Linked DNA regions of Homo sapiens: regions 2, 3, 4 and 5 are each linked to region 1. Evidence: promoter capture Hi-C in human tissues and cell types (Jung and others, 2019). All regions are on one chromosome and are shown on one strand. The core of a region is centred on a gene start or on the middle of the fragment in contact, and the rest is flanking DNA. Distances in the headings are between cores, read along the strand shown. Region 1 holds the start of HORMAD2 (HORMA domain containing 2). Region 2 overlaps ASCC2 (activating signal cointegrator 1 complex subunit 2). Region 3 holds the start of MTFP1 (mitochondrial fission process 1). Region 4 holds the start of PES1 (pescadillo ribosomal biogenesis factor 1). Region 5 holds the start of SF3A1 (splicing factor 3a subunit 1).

Evidence for each region. Contacts are between HindIII fragments. The study calls those that stand out against the background at their distance.
Region 2: a contact is called between a fragment that was not itself captured here and the fragment with the promoter of HORMAD2 in region 1, in 2 of the 25 tissues and cell types used here (liver and spleen).
Region 3: the fragment with the promoter of MTFP1 here is called in contact with the fragment with the promoter of HORMAD2 in region 1 in 1 of the 25 tissues and cell types used here (mesenchymal stem cells).
Region 4: a contact is called between the fragment with the promoter of PES1 here and the fragment with the promoter of HORMAD2 in region 1, in 2 of the 25 tissues and cell types used here (adrenal gland and heart left ventricle).
Region 5: the fragment with the promoter of SF3A1 here is called in contact with the fragment with the promoter of HORMAD2 in region 1 in 4 of the 25 tissues and cell types used here (IMR-90 fibroblasts, hippocampus, lymphoblastoid cells and 1 more).

Annotation. Positions count from the first base shown.
Region 1 is chr22:30,078,529-30,081,962 of GRCh38, reverse strand. HORMAD2 (HORMA domain containing 2) reads right to left here and starts at 1,499. Exons shown (of 11, transcript NM_152510.4): 1 at 1,472-1,499. It overlaps HORMAD2-AS1 (HORMAD2 and MTMR3 antisense RNA 1), which reads left to right and starts at 1,706. Exons shown (of 5, transcript NR_110541.2): 1 at 1,706-1,835. RefSeq lists enhancers at 1,429-1,508, 1,346-2,043, 3,218-3,297 and silencers at 1,849-1,898, 3,348-3,434. The HindIII fragment of the contact is 22,926 bases long and covers 1-3,434 here.
Region 2 is chr22:29,799,356-29,802,924 of GRCh38, reverse strand. ASCC2 (activating signal cointegrator 1 complex subunit 2) reads left to right here. Exons shown (of 20, transcript NM_032204.5): 14 at 717-931; 15 at 1,815-1,934. Among named protein-coding and RNA genes, the nearest start is that of UQCR10, 34 kb to the right of the region's middle. RefSeq lists enhancers at 1,348-2,343, 3,235-3,569. The HindIII fragment of the contact is 7,164 bases long and covers 1-3,569 here.
Region 3 is chr22:30,424,430-30,427,785 of GRCh38, reverse strand. MTFP1 (mitochondrial fission process 1) reads right to left here and starts at 2,018. Exons shown (of 4, transcript NM_016498.5): 1 at 1,840-2,018; 2 at 942-1,069; 3 at 383-615. The coding sequence starts at 1,906. SEC14L2 (SEC14 like lipid binding 2) reads right to left here. Exons shown (of 12, transcript NM_012429.5): 12 at 2,483-3,356. RefSeq lists enhancers at 639-1,199, 1,200-1,758. The HindIII fragment of the contact is 6,033 bases long and covers 1,006-3,356 here.
Region 4 is chr22:30,590,632-30,594,277 of GRCh38, reverse strand. It overlaps PES1 (pescadillo ribosomal biogenesis factor 1), which reads left to right and starts at 2,368. Exons shown (of 15, transcript NM_014303.4): 1 at 2,368-2,468. The coding sequence starts at 2,445. RefSeq lists enhancers at 1,746-1,825, 2,046-2,345, 1,825-2,540. The HindIII fragment of the contact is 28,649 bases long and covers 1-3,646 here.
Region 5 is chr22:30,355,108-30,358,812 of GRCh38, reverse strand. SF3A1 (splicing factor 3a subunit 1) reads left to right here and starts at 1,919. Exons shown (of 16, transcript NM_005877.6): 1 at 1,919-2,083. The coding sequence starts at 2,021. CCDC157 (coiled-coil domain containing 157) reads right to left here and starts at 1,806. Exons shown (of 12, transcript NM_001017437.5): 1 at 1,681-1,806. RefSeq lists an enhancer at 438-1,037 and a silencer at 1,973-2,222. The HindIII fragment of the contact is 21,616 bases long and covers 1-3,705 here.

The DNA.
Region 1 (3,434 bases), core at 250-2,749:
AAATCTCACACTGTATACAAATATTAATGCAAAATGGATCATGGATTTAAACCTAAACATAAAACTATAAAGAAAAGGGGCCAGGTGCAGTGGCTCACACCTGTAATCCCAGCACTCTGGGAGGCCGAGGTGGGAGGATCACGAGGTCAAGAGATCGAGACTATCCTGGCCAACATGGTGAAACCCTGTCTCTACTAAAAATAAAAAAAAATAAAAAAATTTAGCTGGGCGTGGTGGTGCACACCTGTAGTCCCAGCTACATGGGAGGCTGAGGCAGGGGAATCGCTTGAACCCGAGAGGTGGAGGTTGCAGTGAGCTGAGATTGCGTCACTGCACTCCAGCCTGGCACAGAGCTCGACTCCATCTCACAAAAAAAAAAGAAAAAAGAAAAGGAAAGTGAGGCTAAGCAAGGGAACTTGGTTTGCCAAAGTTCGCCCAATTACTTAGACCTTCCAACAGAGCTTGCTTCAATAAATTATTCACCATTTTAACAAATTCCATTTGGCCCTGGTAATTCCCCTACCTGTGCTCATTCAGAGAAAATGGCTTCCACTATATTAATTGAGTATTTGTTCATGCTCTTTTGACTTTTTAATATCTTTTTCATGCTATTTCAATTATTCATTCATTCAACATCTACGAGGCAACTACAATGTGCCAGGCAACAACATGCAGGATTACGAGATGTAAAATACTGTTCCTACCTCAACAGATTGATGGTCCAATGGAGGAGAAATTAGATTATGATCCTGCTGAGATTAAAAACCCCTTTAGGGGCCAGAACCACCCCTCATTTCTACCAGCTGAGTACACGATGTACTGCACAGCCTGTCCAGTGCCCTGCGTACTCGGACACATTTTGGCGATTGGCTAATCCTGAGGTTCAAGACTCTCTCCCTCTGTTTAGGGAACTAAAGTCCATAGGGATTAATTGGCAAATCCTCACTAAAGTGAAAGGGGAGCTGAGGTCAAGGGGGGCGGGGTGTCTTGTCCCCACCTCTCTCACCTCTTGGCCTGTACCAGGCATCGATCCTGGCAGAAAACCTCAATGGCTGGGGAGAATCTGACCCAGGTAAGATAAACTTCCCCAAAGCTCCACCACACACGGCCCCCTCCAATGTCGGGCACAGACATCGTCTGCCCTGCCAGCCTCATCATGGCTCATTATGGCTGCTGCTTGCTCAGCAAGTTTGATTTCATGTCCAGAAAAATCTGAATTTCAAAACTACCTGGGTGCTCTCTGTCCAGTTCTGGGGGAAATCGCCTCCCTTTTGCCTTCCTCCTCAGCCCCCTGCCCTCCCGATTCTCTTCACAGTACTTTAGGCCCTCACGAAATATGATACTTTCAAATCCAACTTAAAGCCTTAAGTAATAAGAAAAGAAAAAAAAATTGTTTTTTGACATAAAGACAGAACTAACAACGCCCGAGTGCCCTCTCTGGGCCGAGACCTCGCGTCTCAACAGCCCTCACCTCAGCTCGTCGACGCTTCCCTCCCACCGGGGGTCAACGGCCTTTTCCGGCCCAAACCCGCTCCTCGGCTCATGAATAGTCAACGAGGCCTTTCTGGGCGGGACCAGAGGTTTCCTCATGAATAATTCATGACCCGTCCACGGCTAGCCTGGGCGACCGGCCTCGCTAGACTTCATGAATATGCAAAGCAGGGGCGAACGGCGGCTAGCCGGCCCCTAGCCCGCCCGGCCCCTCAGCAGCCGCCTCTCAGCCACGGGCTGCACACTGACCCGACGCGACCTTCGGTCAGGGGCCGCCAGCCTGGGCCACCTATACAACGACAGCCTGCTCCGGGGCTTCCTGAGGAGGTGCCTGCCCCGCCGAGGTTAGGACCCGAGGGACCGTGGGGCTCGGGCGGGCCAGGACGCCAGGCCGGCGGGTCCCAGAGAGGTCTGAGGCGGGCGCGGGGCGGCGTAGGGGAGGGAAGCGAGAGCCTGGGGGGCCCAGGGACCCGAGTTAGAAGAAGGCCCGAGAAGTGCGGCGCGGTGGCTCCACCTGGGATCCCAGCACTCTGGGAGGCTGAGGCGGGCGCGTCACTTGAGGTCAGGAATTCGAGACCAGCCTGGCCAACATGTTGAAAACCCGTCTCTACAAAAAATACAAAAATTAGCTGGGCGTGGTGGCGCGCGCCTGTAGTCCCAGCTACTTGGGAAGCTGAGGCACGAGAATCGCTTGAGCCCAGGAGGCTGAGGTTGCAGTGAGCCGAGATTCCGCCATTGCACTCCAGCCTGGGCGACAGAGCGAGACTCCGTCTCAAAAAAATTTTAAAAAGTACAAAAATTAGCTGGGCCACCTGACGTGCGCCTGTAGTCCCAGCTGCTCGGGAGGCTGAGGTAGGAGGATCGCTTGAGCCGGGGAGTTTGAGGTTGCAGTGAGCCAAGATCGTACCATTGCACTCCAGCCTGGGCAACAGAGGGAGACCCTGTCTCAAAAATAAAAAAAAAGAAAAGAAAGAAAAAAGACATAAGGCCAGAAGGCCAGAGCTTTCCAATACTTGAGGGCATCTGCAACCTCTTCATCCCTACCCTGGACCTGACTTTGCATTCTTTTTAACATTAATTTGTAATTATGCAAATAAAACATAAATATATTCTCCTTTGTGCCCTACCCCTAATCTCAGTTTTTTCTGCCCTGGTAACTGTGGGAGCAGTTGGGGGTGTGGCTCCTTGGATCGTTTCTCACCTGTTTAGGTAGATATTTCGTATCCTGTGGTGCTTTCCAAAGGCTCCTGGAGTCCCATGAACCTCCCCAAGGGGATTTCCCAAGAGAGTAGATGAAAGAGTGAGCCACTTGAAACCTGTTCTTATTTTGTTTCTGCAGGAAAGAAAAAAAAAACTATTCAAGTTGGCGAGAACATGAGTTTAGAACATAATGACTAAAACTGAAATTTGGGCTGAAATATTCTTTTAGTGCAAGTTTTCTCAACCTTCTCCCCACCCCCACCATCATAACAACCAAAAATTTCTCTAGACTTTGCCAAATGTCCCATGGGGTGTGCAAAATTGCCCTCTGTTGAGAACTACTGCGTTCACCCTATACTTTCCGGAAGTAACTGCTTTTTAAGCTCCAACCACACAGATGGTTTGTCTGCACCAGCCCTTCTCAGCCTCCGCATTTACCAGCCTCTCTGGCTGGATCACTAGGCCCTCTGTGCTGGCTGTTCTAATTTTCTTCTGCCTTCAGATCTGAGCTCAGTCAACTGCTACCATATCCAAAGACTTACCCCTCTCTGCCCTATACTATTGGCAGTCTACCCCACCAGCAAACACAGTTATTCGTTATTCTGTTTCTTTCATAGAATTTCTCTCAATCTAATTTTTTTTTTTTTTTTTTTTTTTTTTTTTTGTGAGACAGAGTCTTGCTCTGTCACCCAGGCTGGAGTGCAGTGGCGTGATATTGGCTCGCTGCCACCTCCACCTCCCAG
Region 2 (3,569 bases), core at 1-2,500, 280 kb after region 1:
TTGCTCTGTCACCCAGGCTGGAGTGCAGTGGCTTGATCAAGCTCACTGCAGCCTCGACCTTCTGGGATCAAGTAATCCTCCCACCTCAGCCTCCTAAGTAGCTGGGACCACAGGCGCATGCCACCACGCCTGGCTAATTTTTTTAGTAGAGACAGGGTTTCACTGTGTTGCCCAGGCTGGTCTCAAACTCCTGAGCTCAGGCAGTCCACCCGTCTCGGCCTCCCAAAGTGCTAGGATTACAGGCATGAGCCACCACACCCGGCCACCTGGCTACTTTTTTAAATTTTTTGAACAGATGGGGTCTTGCTGTGTTGCTCAGGCTGGTCTAACTCCTGAGCTCAAGTAATTCTCTTGCCTCAGCCTCCCAAAGTGCTGGGATTATAGGTATGAGCCACTGTACCCGGCCTTAAATTTTTTTTATTTTTTTTTTTTGTTTATTTTCCTGGATATGTAGTAGGTGTATATATTTATAGGTTACATGAGATATTTTGATACAGGCATGCAATAATCATAACAATCACGAGCCCCCTTTTTCACAGAGAAGGAAATGGAGGCTCAGAGAGACTTGAGTCACTTGACAAAGTTCCCACAGGCAGGAGGGGTAATCCCAGGACTTGAACCAGATCCCTGATGCCTAGTCCAGTGCTGTCTGGGGCCTGTGGCCCTATCACCGGCCCACTTAGCCTTCCCCTTCTTGGCTCTGGCTCTCACTACAGTGCATGGGAGCAGCCGCGGCTGTGGGCCCTGCCATGTGTGGGGTGGAACTGGACTCTCTCATCTCCCAAGTGAAGGACCTGCTGCCAGACCTTGGTGAGGGCTTCATCCTGGCCTGCCTGGAGTACTACCACTACGACCCAGAGCAGGTGATCAACAATATCCTGGAGGAGCGGCTGGCCCCCACCCTCAGCCAGCTGGACCGCAACCTAGACAGGTGGGAGAGACAGGTGGGAGGAGGCTCCCGCTGCCCAGGCTGCCTCGGGGTGGGGCCCCTTCCTCTCTTCCTTCCCTCATTCATGGCCCAGGACTCAGCTTGTTCTCTCTTCCCAGCCATTTAAACTAAAGCCCTCTTTGGGGAAACATAAAAACCTTAGGCCCCGCAGGAGTTTTTCACTTGCCCCAGGCAGGGCAGAGAGTGTACACATCCCTGCCACACTTTGTGGGAAGGCTGATTAGAGCGCCATGGATGTGTCTTCAGGGATGTAACACAGGGTTGTTGAGCCCTTCTGATCCCCTACATTCCTGACCTGCCCCTGTCATTACGACCTTCCCAGTAGATTTGTGAGAGAGGATGGCCACAGCGTCTCACTTTCATCACACCTACCATTTATTTGGCCCACTGCTGCCCTGAAGGCCCCATGGGACAGCAGGAACCAGTGCCCGAAAGGGTGTTTCTTCCATGAGCAAGTGATGTTTACCAATCACTTGTTAACTTGAGAAATTAGCTTTGTGCCTTTGGACAAGTTCCTCAGCCTCTGAGGCACAATGAGGTTGAGTGATCTGTGACTACTGATCTTATGCGACTATTACGAGCATTAAATGTGGGATAGCGCTTTTAAGAAACAGAAGGAAACCCTGTGTGAATGGCATGCAGAGAATGAGGGGGAGCTTTGTTTGAGGTGTGGCTGCATACCCAGGCAGAGGCCAGATCAGGCAGCAGCTTATCTCCCTCTTCAAGGTTTTGAGATTGTGTCCTAGGAGTGCCTGTTGAAGGGAACTGAAAAATCCGATGGATTTAATACAGCAGGGGGAAGTGGGGTGCAGATTGCATCAGCTGGCAGGGCCCCCTTAAATTGATCTCTGTGTCCCCCACCCAGAGAAATGAAACCAGACCCTACACCCCTGCTGACGTCTCGCCACAACGTCTTCCAGAATGACGAGTTTGATGTGTTCAGCAGGGACTCAGTAGACCTGAGCCGGGTGCACAAGGGCAAGAGGTGAGTGCAGTGGGCCATGGGGTTCCGATACCCCAACTCTGGAAGTGCAGAGAGGACACAGGGAAACCAAGGGCTCCATCTTCGCAGAATTGGCCATGGAGTATCAGCACAGGGATCCCTTCACAACCCTAGACCTGTGCACCCCCAGTGGTTAGGAGCAGGTTCTCTACTGATCAGGCTTCAGGTTCTGACTCTGTGCAGGGAGGCTGTTAGTGAATCCCCCCTGTTGATAGCAAAAGGCCAGAAGGGCCAAAACTATCCCCCTCTTCCCTTCTTCTTACATCTTTTAATGTGTTAACCATCAAATCACTGGTGGACAGTGCTTCCCAGAAACCACTCTTTGACCTGATTTTCCCCAGGCTGTGAGAAAATTAAGGACTTTGAATGAGCTTTTCAGAAGGTGAACATATTCCACTTTAAGGCCTTTCTATTTATTTTTAGTTTATGTCCTTCCTACTTTTTTGGCATTGAAAATTCCGTTCATGATTTATCCATTTATTCAACAAATATTTGTCTAATACTTACAGCATTCTAGGCTCTGGATTAATTAGGTTCTGGGGATATAGTGGGGAGTGAAACAGACACGGCCCCTGCCCACGTGGAGTTTGCATTAATCAACTCATCAAACAAGCAACATCAAATTGCAGGTATAACAAATACTACAAGCTGGAGGTGCACAGAATTCTGAGCCTTTGGTAGGGCTTCACCCCAGTCAAGAAGGCTCCTCTGAGAACATGACATGGGACCGAGAGCTAAAGGGTGAGGAGGGGTCACTTCTGCAAAGGAGGGAAGGAGAAGCTTCCCAAGCAGAGCAACAGGGACAGTGGTCCCGAGGCCATAGTGAGCACAGCAAAGGGTCCCATGAACCGACAAAGCCAGCATATTTTATGTTTTGAAAAGATCAGGGCTGGGTGCAGCGGCTCATGCCTAGTCCCAGCACTTTGGGAGGCCAAGGCAGGTGGATCACTTGAGTCCAGGAGTTCGAGACCAGCCTGGGCAACATAGCGAAACCCCATATATACAAAAAATACAAAAATTAGCCGGGTGTGCTGGCACACGCCTATAGTTCCAGCTACTCTGGAGGCTGAGGCAGTAAGATCACTTAAGCCCAGGAGGTCAAGGCTGCAATGAGCTGTGATCGTGCCACTGTACTCCAGCCTGGGTGACACAGTAAGAACCTGTCTCAAGAAAAAAAAATAAGAGAGTTCACCCAGCGTTGGAATGATGACCCATCAGAGGGACAGAGAGTTGGATGTCATGGTAAAGAGTACAACATCCAAGTAGAGAACAGCAAAATAAGATGTATTCTAGTCCCCCAAAGTTCTGCATGGAATCTAGAAATCAGGGGACTTCTTTACAAGTACAGGCTGCTCTTTCACCATCACGTGAATGGGGACCGTGAGGTTCAGAGAGGGAGGAGACCAGCCAGCCTTGTTCCTGTGGTAGGAGCCCCAGTGGCGGAAATGCCAGCTGCTTCTTCAGTTAGGGCCCTGTGCTGTTACCCCTCCCTAGGGCTGTCCACTGCTAAAAGCTTGGCTGGCTGAGGGCTTGGGGAACTGGCGCAGGGCAACTACAAAGCCGTCTGGCTGGCTGGACAGGAAGCACTTGCAAACTGCTTAGTCATACACATTGCAA
Region 3 (3,356 bases), core at 769-3,268, 350 kb before region 1:
CCATTTTATTCAAATATTCAGTTTGAGTTAGGCTTCTGTCACCAATACCTCCCAAAATGCATCCCCTCTAGGGTGCACCTGCTCCTGCTTCTCTCTGGTTGTTTTGTAACACTAGACTTTCTTTCTGGGAATTTACTTGTCCTGTGTCCCATACCCTCAACGCACCCCTCTTCTTTTATTGCTAAAGTGCCTGCCATACCATATGACAAGGGTACAGGCTGTCCTTTCTAACCCAGGAGCCAAGTGCCAGCCTTGTCCCTGCTATTGCTCCAGCAAAGTGGGCATACCCCACACTTCACAGAGTCTAGCTCTACCTGGAGACTGGATGATCCACTCTCATCACTGGAGAGTGGATGATCCCTGAGGCCAAGAAGGTACCCACCTGTCAATGGGGTGGATAATGATGGGGATGGTCAACAGCCCAAGCGCGGTGGTGGTCCACTTGCGGACAGCCAGGGGCCAGCGGGTGGCAGTGCCCAGGACATAGAGAGAGGCAGCACACACGCGGTTGATGGTGAAGCCCGGAATGGCCACAGAGGCTAGAGCCTGCCATACAAAGGTGTCCACCACAGCCACAGTCACCCTGGCGCTGCGGCCTGCTTCAGGGCTGGGCACCTGGTGGGCGCAGAGACACTTAATCCAGCTGGGGCAGAGGCAGAAAATCCTGCGACAAGGGGCACGAGGCTAGACCGGGAGGGGCAAGTGGCCAGTGGACTTGTCCGCACCCAGGAGTGGGGTACAGTCTGCCACATCCAGTTCGGGGAGTGGGAGTGTGGGGGCAGGGGTACACTGTCCTACAAACAGGACTGTCTATGGACTGCACTAGGCAAGGTTGTAGGGACTGGAGTGTCCCACAGGGACTTTATCACATGCAAGGCTGTGGACTGAACCACACAAGAAGAGAGCTAGGGTTGGGGGTTGGAAAATAGGCTAACACTCACCTCTCCAGCCTTCTTGCCTTTGTCAATGGCATCCGCCAGCACGTAGGAGCTGGCCACGCCATAGCTCAGCCACACCACCGCCGCTGGCACAAGAGAGCGGAAAGCCTCGCCCACCTCATTGGCATAGCCTGGGGGAGGGAACATTTAATTCCTAGGCTCGCAACTGTTCCACGAGGGGGCGTTGGAGCAGGCTGGTTCTCATCCTAGCCAGCTAAGCAGTCCCTGGGTGACCTTAGGCAAGTGACTTGACCTCTCTGAGCCTCCCTTTCCGAGATGTAAACTGGTGCCATGATGCCCACCTCGGACTCGGGCCACTGAGGGCGGACTGAGCACTGAGTCACTGTTACCATTGCTTATTGGTTAGATTTCCTGGTCTTGGTCCCAGGAGTAACTGCACTAATGAGGTGACAGGCACCCAGAGGGGCAGAGTGATCGAGGGCAGCGCCACTGACCAGACGCTCGCCAAGTGCCAGGGCTTTCTGCGCTTTATCCCATTCCACCCTCGCAACCACCACCCAATGAGAGAGGCCCTCGTGTGTATCTCGTTTGTTTTTTGTTTTGTTTTTGTTTTTTTGCCGAGGAGGAAACTGAGGTTCAGACAGAGCCAGTGCGTGTCAGGACCGAAATGGGAGTGGAGATCCCGACTCCACAGCCAGCCAGAGCGCATGCCAGAGCGGGCAGCCCGCTCACCCCATGGGAGCTTCCGCCCTGGGCGACCCACCAGGGTAGTGTGACCTTGGGCAAGTCCCTAGCCCTGTCTGAGCCCAGTCTCCGGCCCAAAAGCAGAATGAGAACTAAGATCATCCCGCCTCCTCCAGGCCCCGGGCGGGCGTCCGGCGACCCCTGCTTCTCCAGCCCAGTGGTGGTGGGGTCGCCGCGCCCGTCGCCCCGCGCTCACCCAGGTATCGCACCCACGTGTCCCGGTAGAGATCGCGCTCTGCGCCCCGCGGCTGCGGCTCTGACATGACTCTCCCGCCACGGCCCCGGCCACTACAGCCGGTACTGGCTCCACTGCAGTCTCCGCCGCCGGCACTTGGGTCTGCCCGGCCGGGACCCGCCGAAAGTCCCGCGCCGAAGGACAGGTCAGGAAATCTCCGCCAGCAGGGAGCGTCTGCAAATTCCCCCCGCGCACCGAAGCCCCTCTCCCAGGCTCGGGTTTTACAGACTGGTTTTCGTCACGTTTTCTCTGAGCTGTTGGCGCTAATCGCTCCCAGGACTGAGTGTAGGTTTTGGAGCCAAAGAGACAGGGGATCAAGTTGGGGGATGCTACACTGCAAAGCTTGTGACCTCGGGCTTATCCAGCATCTCTTTATTCATTTGTAAAAACGAGGGAGGGACACAGGCTGGGCCCGTTGGCTCACGCCTGTGATCCCAGCACTTTGGGAGGCCGGAGGCGGGAAGATCTCTTGAGCCCAAGGGTTCGAGAACAGCCTGGACAACATAGCGAGACCTCGTCTCTACTAAAAAAAAAAAAAAAAAATTAATGTAATAAATAAAATGGGGAACACAATAGTGTCCACTCCCTAGGATGGTTCCGAGGATTAATTATAACAGTCACCATTTATTGAGTTTATTGCCAGTCTACATGTTCGCTAAAGGACTCTCCATGTCTTACACCTGAAACCCTCCCACCAGCCTGGGAGCCCGTTTTACAGGTGAGAAAATGGAGGCACAGAGAAGGTGGGTCATTTTCCCAGAACACACAGCTGCTAAGTGGTGAAGTTGTGATTTGAATCCAAACAGTGTGGATCCAGATCCCGTGCTCTTAATGCGAGCTCTAAATGAGGCTAGAGGAGTGAACGGTGAGCCCCTGGGAGGTAGGTGCCTGGACTCTGGAGTCCCTTCTCAGCAGTCGCCATGTATAACTAGGAAGCACTCGCATTTAACTGGATCAGTATGTCCCCAGACTGAGCTTCTTGGGGACAGGATGTTGGATGAATTAATTAACGAATGAATGAATCGGGCAAGGGAGACAGAGTTGGGGTTAGTGATTACAACAGGAGGAAGCCTTCCCCCGCTGGACCTCAGTTCACCCAGGTGAGCAATGTGTGCACTTCACTAAGTCTCTGTGACTCCTTGGCGGGTATAATTGAGCGGCGTTGGAGACAATCCTGGGTTCAAATCCTAGCTGTGCCGCCTACTGGCTGTTAGCCTCCCTGAGCCCCAGTTCCCACGTCTGCAAAAAAAATGAGAGTAGCCAACATTGACGAGCACTTACTTATACCAAGCTCTTAAGCGCTTTGCACGGCTTATTTCCTTTAATCTTTGCAACAACCCAAAGTGTAATAGTAAGCACAGGGTTTTTGCGTGATACCCGGTAGGCCTTATTAAGAATTAGCTCTTATTTTCATCAAAGGTAGAGAAAATGAGTAACTATTGAGGCCCCCGCTGGCTCCCTACGGAGGCCCCCGCTTT
Region 4 (3,646 bases), core at 1,119-3,618, 510 kb before region 1:
AAAGTGCTGGGATTACAGGCGTGTGTCACCATGCCCAGCAAATTTTTGTTTTAAATGAAACAATGTAAACATACTTAAAGCAACAACTACTTTATGCAGTTAGTGTTGACCCCATCTTACAAATGAGGAAGAGAGGTACCCTGAGGTAAAGTGGCTTGTCCGAGGCTTAGAGGTAAACCAGGTGTGTCTCCCTGCAGAGACTGGGCTTTTCACCGTAATGCTGATGGAGGCTTGGTATTGCACAAAGCATTCTGTGTGTGGGCAGCCCTAATGGTTAAAAACCTCTTCCCTTTATGGAACAAAAATCTACCTGGCATTATCCTGGAGTCACATAACATTCTTTCTACTATACGTTAGGTAGTGGAATGTGAGTTTAGCAGAGGACTCTGAAACCAGACTGCTTGGTGAGAATCTATTCTGCACAGCTTAGCAGCTGAGTGATCTTCAGCGATCACTTACTTTCCTGAGACTTAGTTTCCTCCCTTGTGAAATGTGGTACCTATATGACGGCTATTTTGAGCTGAAATTACAATTGCTTCCCTGAACATCCCCACCTGTGTCTTCCAGTGACCCCTCAACATTAATGTGAGCAAAACAAGGCTCAACTTTCTGCAAACATGGTTCTATCTGTGCAGGACGAGCTAGGTGATTTGTGAGGGACAGGGTGAGATGACTGCCCAGGCCACATGCTCACGACACCAGCCCTGTTCCTGTGTTGCCCTCATGAGCCAGCCACTGCCACCCTCTCCAGTCCATCCCTTTCCTTCTTCTTCTTTTTTTTTTTGAGATGGAGCCTCGCTCTGTCGTCTAGGCTTGAGTGCAGAGTGCAGTGGCACAATCTTGGCTCACTGCAACATCTACCTCCTGGGTTCAATAAATTCTCCTGCCTCAGCCTCCCAACTAGCTGGGGTTACAGGTGCCTGCCACCACACCCGGCTAATTTTTGTATTTTTGGTAGAGATGGGTTTTCGCCATGTTGGCCAGGCTGGTCTCAAACTCCTGATCTCAGGTGATCCGCCTGCCTCAGCCTCTCAAAGTGCTGGGATTACAGGTGTGAGCGACCGTGCCCGGCTTCATCTCATTTTTAACTGTGGAATTGCTGGGTTTTAAATTTTAGCTTTAAATTAGATAGTGCAAGTCACATAGTTCAAAACAAGTATTCACCAGTGCTTAACGTCTGTCTCTGTGTAAGTTCTAAGACCAAGTCCTTGGGCCAGGTCACATTCACAAGAGCCTCAAATTTAAACTTTTGAGATCATCTTCGAACGAAATTTGGAATTTGGAAAAAGGGAGAAACGTTTAAAAAAAAAAAAACCTCTTAAAATTGCATCTACTTCCAGACTGCACCATCTCAAGGTGATGTGACTATTTGTATAAATCTTGGAATTATTATTTGAGGAACACTTACAGAATTTATGTGTACAAATTAAAAGCTCGAATATGTTGAATGTACATTTAATTTTATTTATTTATTTATTTTTGAGATGGAGTCTCACTCTGTCGCCCAGGCTGGAGTGCAGTGGCAAGATCTCGGCTCACTGCAACCTCTGCCTCCCAGGTTCAAGCGATTCTCCTGCGTCAGCCTCCCGAGTAGCTGGGATTACAGGCGTGTGCCACCATGGCCAGCTAATTTTTGTATTTTTAGCAGAGACGGGGTTTCACTATATTGGTCACACTGGTCTCGAACTCCTGACCTCAGATGATCCGCCTGTCTTGGCCTCCCAAAGTGCTGGGATTACAGGCGTGCGCCACCGCTCCCAGCCTTGAATGTACATTTTAAATATACCACGAGTCCACCACTAAGGCTCAGAAAATATAAGTGGCCTCTAGGATCTCTATACCTCCGCGAGGAAAAATGTCTTCCTTTTTTCTATTTTAGCCGCATAACCGCGAATGAACCAAAGAGAACCCGAAGCCGGTGGGAACTCAGCGCAGTCTCACCCTGCCCCTCGGGAACCGCTTCTCAGCAGCGGCAGCCGAAGTCTGACGACGCTTAGCAACCGTTACCTTGACAACGCAATCCTATCGCGCACCATGGAGTGCGGCGCCCCTCTGCATCCCAGAAGGCACCGCGCTGTCCCTAAGCCTTCCGCCCCTCTCCGTCCCAACATGCAACGAGGCTCACAGTCAATGAATCGTCATCAGGGTGATTACAGAAAAGCCTGTATATCCACGTTTGTTTTAACACTTAAAGTGTTTGTAACCATTGTGAGCGGGAAAGATCTGGAAAGAGTGTTCTCAGTGATTTTTTTCAGACTATAGTTTTAAATCTTGAGGAGGAAATCCCCATCTTTCCCTGGACTTGTACAGGCATCTCATTGGGCAGCCCGCACAAACAGACAGCGTGGGGTGGGGAGGGTCCTCGGGGTCCTTGGCAGGGCACGTGCGGGAGGAAGTGGAGCTCCCTGTACGCGCGGCCCTAGTCGGCTCCTCAACGTGGAGCGATGGGAGGCCTTGAGAAGAAGAAGGTGATTGGGAAAGACGGTGGGGATTCCCGAGGGGTGGGGTGCGGGGGCGGCAGAGCATGGGGTCGACTCTTTTCCCGGGCTCCGTCTCGTGGAGACTGGAAAGACGGGATCGACGTGACCGTAATCAGCTGCGAGAAGGGGTCCGAGAATGGACAAGGATGGCAGTATTCGTTTAGTGAAATCCGAGAACGAACTCCAGAGTTCTTTCTGTGGAGAGGGCTGTGAAAGAGAGTTGAACTTACCAAGCGTAGCTTCATTCCAAAAGCAGGCCGAGCCGTGGGACCACTATTTACCGAAAGGGTGATAAACATTACGTAGAGCTCACCGTTACTGCACCGTTACATTAGTTGGTTAGTGTTGTCTTGGAAGTTCTCTTCGAGGCATAACATTTCGGCTGAAATGGGAAAGATCAGAACGTCTTGGATGGGTTCTGGGGCATGGGAGTGCTTAGCGAGCAGGCCTGACAAGGGAAACCAAGTGCCAAGATCAGTAGGCAGGGAAGGCTTGCTGTGTGTAAGGAGTTGGAAGGACATTAGGATGACTCGCATGTAAACCAAGAAAAGAATGGCATCTGATAAGATTGGGGTTGGACACGTACTGTATCGTGCAAGGCCTGTAAGCTTGGATTTTATTCTAAGTGCAGTAGGAATAGTGTAGAGCTTGGATTTTATTCTACGTGCAGTAGGAAAAAAAGGAGGAGTAACACGATTAGAGTTTTTCAGGGAGTTCTTGTGGCTGTATGGAGAATCGGCCCAGTGACATGAAAAGACTGGGAAGGGAATGGGAATGAGGAATATATAGTTGGCTTAAGTGTTTCTTTCAGAGTGAAAGTTTCTATTGCCAGTGTTCTTAACCCAACACACTACATTGAGTATCCAGTGCTAGCCATCGGAACTGCAAAGATACAAGATGGAAAACCTGCCCTTGAGTTGCAGATGTAGATATGTAACAAAATCGTTACAGTTTTTAAAAGCTGGGTTTCAGAGCCAGAATCAACAAAGATGAGTCTTTGTTGTGGGAAGGATTGTCTTGTGTGTAGTAGGATATTTGGCAACATCCCTGATCCTTTACCTACTGGATACCAGTAGCACCCAGCAACCAAAAATGTCTCCAAACATTGCTGAACTCTCCTCCCCCCAGCACATACCCAGGGAGTACCCCATTGAGAACTATTTATT
Region 5 (3,705 bases), core at 670-3,169, 280 kb before region 1:
GCCCGGCACTGTACCCATGACCACATAGGTGACAGCACTAATTGAGCCCTTAGGGAGGAGCAGCAGCTATCTCTGCCTCTCCTCAATTTCCTGGGGCTCAAGGTGGACTTTTGACTCCCAGAGAAGAGCAGGAGCCTTTCCTGCATTTCCGTTCAACATTCAAGCGCCTTCTCTCTCTCAGAACTAGTACCCTAACCCTACTCGGTAAAGATGATGCCTACTTCCCAGCCAGGGTGCCTGGTGAGATTCAAAGCCACCACCATGAAAACACGGGAAACTCTAAAACCAGCTATGTGGCAGATGTCAGTCTCAAACATGAGATTGTTAATTGCCTGGATCCCTGGGGATACTGAAGGGACTGAGGGCAAAATAACTAACTGCACTAGTAGAGGAATAAGACTGGCTTGAACTTGCATTCCCACTCTACCAACTCCAAACTTCACTGTCCTCATTTGTAAATAGGTTGCTATAAGGAATAAATGACGTAACACATGAAGTGTTGGGCACAGTATCCGGCTCATAGTAAATGACCAATACATCCCAGCTATCATTATTCTACATTAATAACAACCATGACACACAGCTACGATGTGTGTGGGGGGAGGGGGAAGACTTGAGAGAGCAACCTTTCCTATCACTCCCTCATTTCACAGGTGAGGAAACTGAAGTCCAGGAACAGGTTCGGAGCCAGCTCCCCGCTTTCCAGAGTTGAGGAGAGGAGGAAGGAGAGAGGGGGGAATCGCAGGAGAGGGAGAGAAGCCGGCGGGATTCGAGGTAGGCCTCTGGGGAGCGAGCCGCATAGCTTGCAGGGCTGCATCTGTGAGAGTGAGGGGTGAAGCCTAAAGCAGCAGCCCTGCGTGATGGCTCATGCGTGTAATCCCAGCACTTTGGGAGGCCAAGGCGGGAGGATCGCTTGACCCCAGGAGTTTGAGACCAGCCTGGGCAACATAGGGAGACGTCCTCCCATGTCCCTACAAAAAAAAAAATTTAAAAACTGGCCGGGCGCGGTGGCTCACGCCTGTAACCCTAACACTTTGGGAAGCCGAGGCGGGCGGATCATTTGAGGTCAGGAGTTCCAGACCAGCCTGGCCAGCATGGTGAAACCCCGTCTCTACTAAAAATGCCAAAAAAAAAAAAAAAAAAATTAGCCGGGTGTGGTGGGCGCCTGTAGTCCCAGCCACTCGGGAGGCTGAGGCAGGAGAATCGCTTGAACTCGGGAGGCGGAGGTTGCAGAGAGTCAAGATCGCGCCACTGCACTCCAGCCTGGGTGACAGAGCAAGACCTTGTCTCAGAAAAAAAGAAAAAAGAAAGACAAAGAAAGCAGCAGCCTTGATTTGAGAGGGAGGCCCCCAGTGGGGCTTGAGGGCGGGACTACGGAAGGCAGGGGATGGAAGCAAGAAAAGGCAGGTTCCGTGGGAAAAGCGAATTAAGGGCGTAGGATTTGGAAGCGGGGCTTGGAGGATGTGGGTCTGAAATGAAAGGGGGGACTAAGGGAGTAGGGAAGTGGGGCTCTTAGGCGGTGAGCCTGAGGGGACAGGGGCTCTCCTAAATGAGAGACCAATGGGAGGGAGCTGGGCTCTTGGAAGGCGGGGTCGAAGGGAGCGAGGTACTGGCCTGTGGAGTAAAGGAGCCGCGAGGTGAGTGCGGCGGGGGTCCGGCGGGTGACGTACAACATCTCACCTGTCTTCGGCGTCGCGGCTTCAGCCTTCGTGTCTGGTCGGCTCCCGGAACTGCCCCCGGTGCGCCTGCGGCCACCGGGATCCCCGAAAAGCCCTAGCCGGGCGCTCAGGCCGCTGCCTTGGCAACGGCGTCGGACGCCGCGGTGCCCGCGGGGAGGGGCGGGAAGCGCGTCACGGCGAGGGGACGGTCCCGGAAGTGCGCCAGTCGTACCTTCGCGGCCGCAACTCGCTCGGCCGCCGCCATCTTGCGAGCTCGTCGTACTGACCGAGCGGGGAGGCTGTCTTGAGGCGGCACCGCTCACCGACACCGAGGCGGACTGGCAGCCCTGAGCGTCGCAGTCATGCCGGCCGGACCCGTGCAGGCGGTGCCCCCGCCGCCGCCCGTGCCCACGGAGCCCAAACAGGTACCTCTCCCCCGCCCCTCAGCCTGCAGCCGGAGGGTTGGCCTGGGCGCTCCTTACTCGCACAGGAATAAGCGGCCGGCCGCTATGAAGGGCTTGGAGGGACTGCAAGTCCCAAGAGGCTGCGCGCTTCCCGCGCTATGGTGGTGTTCTGGTAGCGAAATGAGCCACCCTGAACGGGATTCTCTAAGTGGTCCGCGGAGCAGCCCCGTCGGCACGAGCCGGGAGCTTCTTAGAAATGTGGAGTCTCCGCCGTAGATCTTTTAAATAGGAATCTACATTTGAACAAAATCCTAAGGTGATTGATTTATAAGTGCGAGAGGCGCTGATCCAGCCCATCCTCTGATCTTATGTAGCAGTTGGGGCCGCCGGCCACAGCCTTTCCCCAGTAATGGCTAATTTCCCAGCCTGCACGGTACATCTTTGGATGTTAATTCTCAGCATCTATTTCGGTGTCTGCCCCAAGCCAGACACCGTGCCAGGCTCCCACATTACCGGAATGAATGGGGCATGGTCCCTGCCTAGGGAGCTCACAGGCTAACGAGAAGACAGACATATGAGAATGCTCACCAAATGTTTGTTGTCCCAATGGCCATCGATGATACAGTGCCAGCCCGCCCTTAATAAAGCTCTCCAATCTCGAATGTGCACAAACCATTGTAGTATGGTGTGATATGCCCTGTGATAGAAGTTTCAGGTACAAATCTAATGAACATTGTTTGCTGGGCTAGAAGGGATATTAAGGTAGGGAAGCCCACAAGAGTGAGAGGTAAATTTCTTTTAGAAGAAGGAATAGGAGTTTGCCAGGTAGGTGACTAGGGAAGGGAAATAGCATCCTTTATTCATCCAGCAAATATTTATTGAACACATACGCTGATCATTGCTTTGGGTTCAGAATAAGGGGGGCGGGGGGGGGGAACATGACTGAAGAAGCCATGCCTTTTCCACAAATATTTAAGTGCCCGTGTGTCCCTGGCATTTTCCCAGGCATTGGGGGAAAATAAGGTAATAGCCAGATAATATGCGCAAAGACACCGAGGTGAATCAAACGGTGTCTCTGATCAAGAGTAAATGAACAAGTGTTGAAGCATAGACTTAGGAGCGTAGTGGCAGGAGATGCGATTCTTACTTAGGATTTGAACTTTTCCTTGTAGACAGTGGGAAGAAAAGGGAGTGTTTTAAGCCAAATAGTGACATTTGTGTTTCAGAAATTCAGGTAGGCAGACGTGTGGAGAATCACTATGAGGGGAGGCCAGTCACGCTATTCCAAAGAGGCTGAAGGCCTGGCCGAGATTAGGGCAGAGGGGGTAGGCAGGCTCTTCAGCCAGAGTGGTGTGTTAGAATCCTGGTTCTGCCAGTTGGACATTAAGCTCTCCATCTCTCAGTTTTGTCATCTGTAATGTGGAGATATTAAGAGTTCTTGGCCGGGTCCAGTGGCTCACGCCTGTAATTCCAGCAGTTTGGGAGGCCGAGGCAGACAGATCACTTGAGGTCAGGAGTTTGAGACCAGCCTGGCCAACATAGCAAAACTGTCTCTACTAAAAATAAAAAATTAGCCAGGTGTGGTGGTGCATGTTTGTAATCCCCACTATTCGGGAGAGAATTGCTTGAACCTGGGAAGCAGA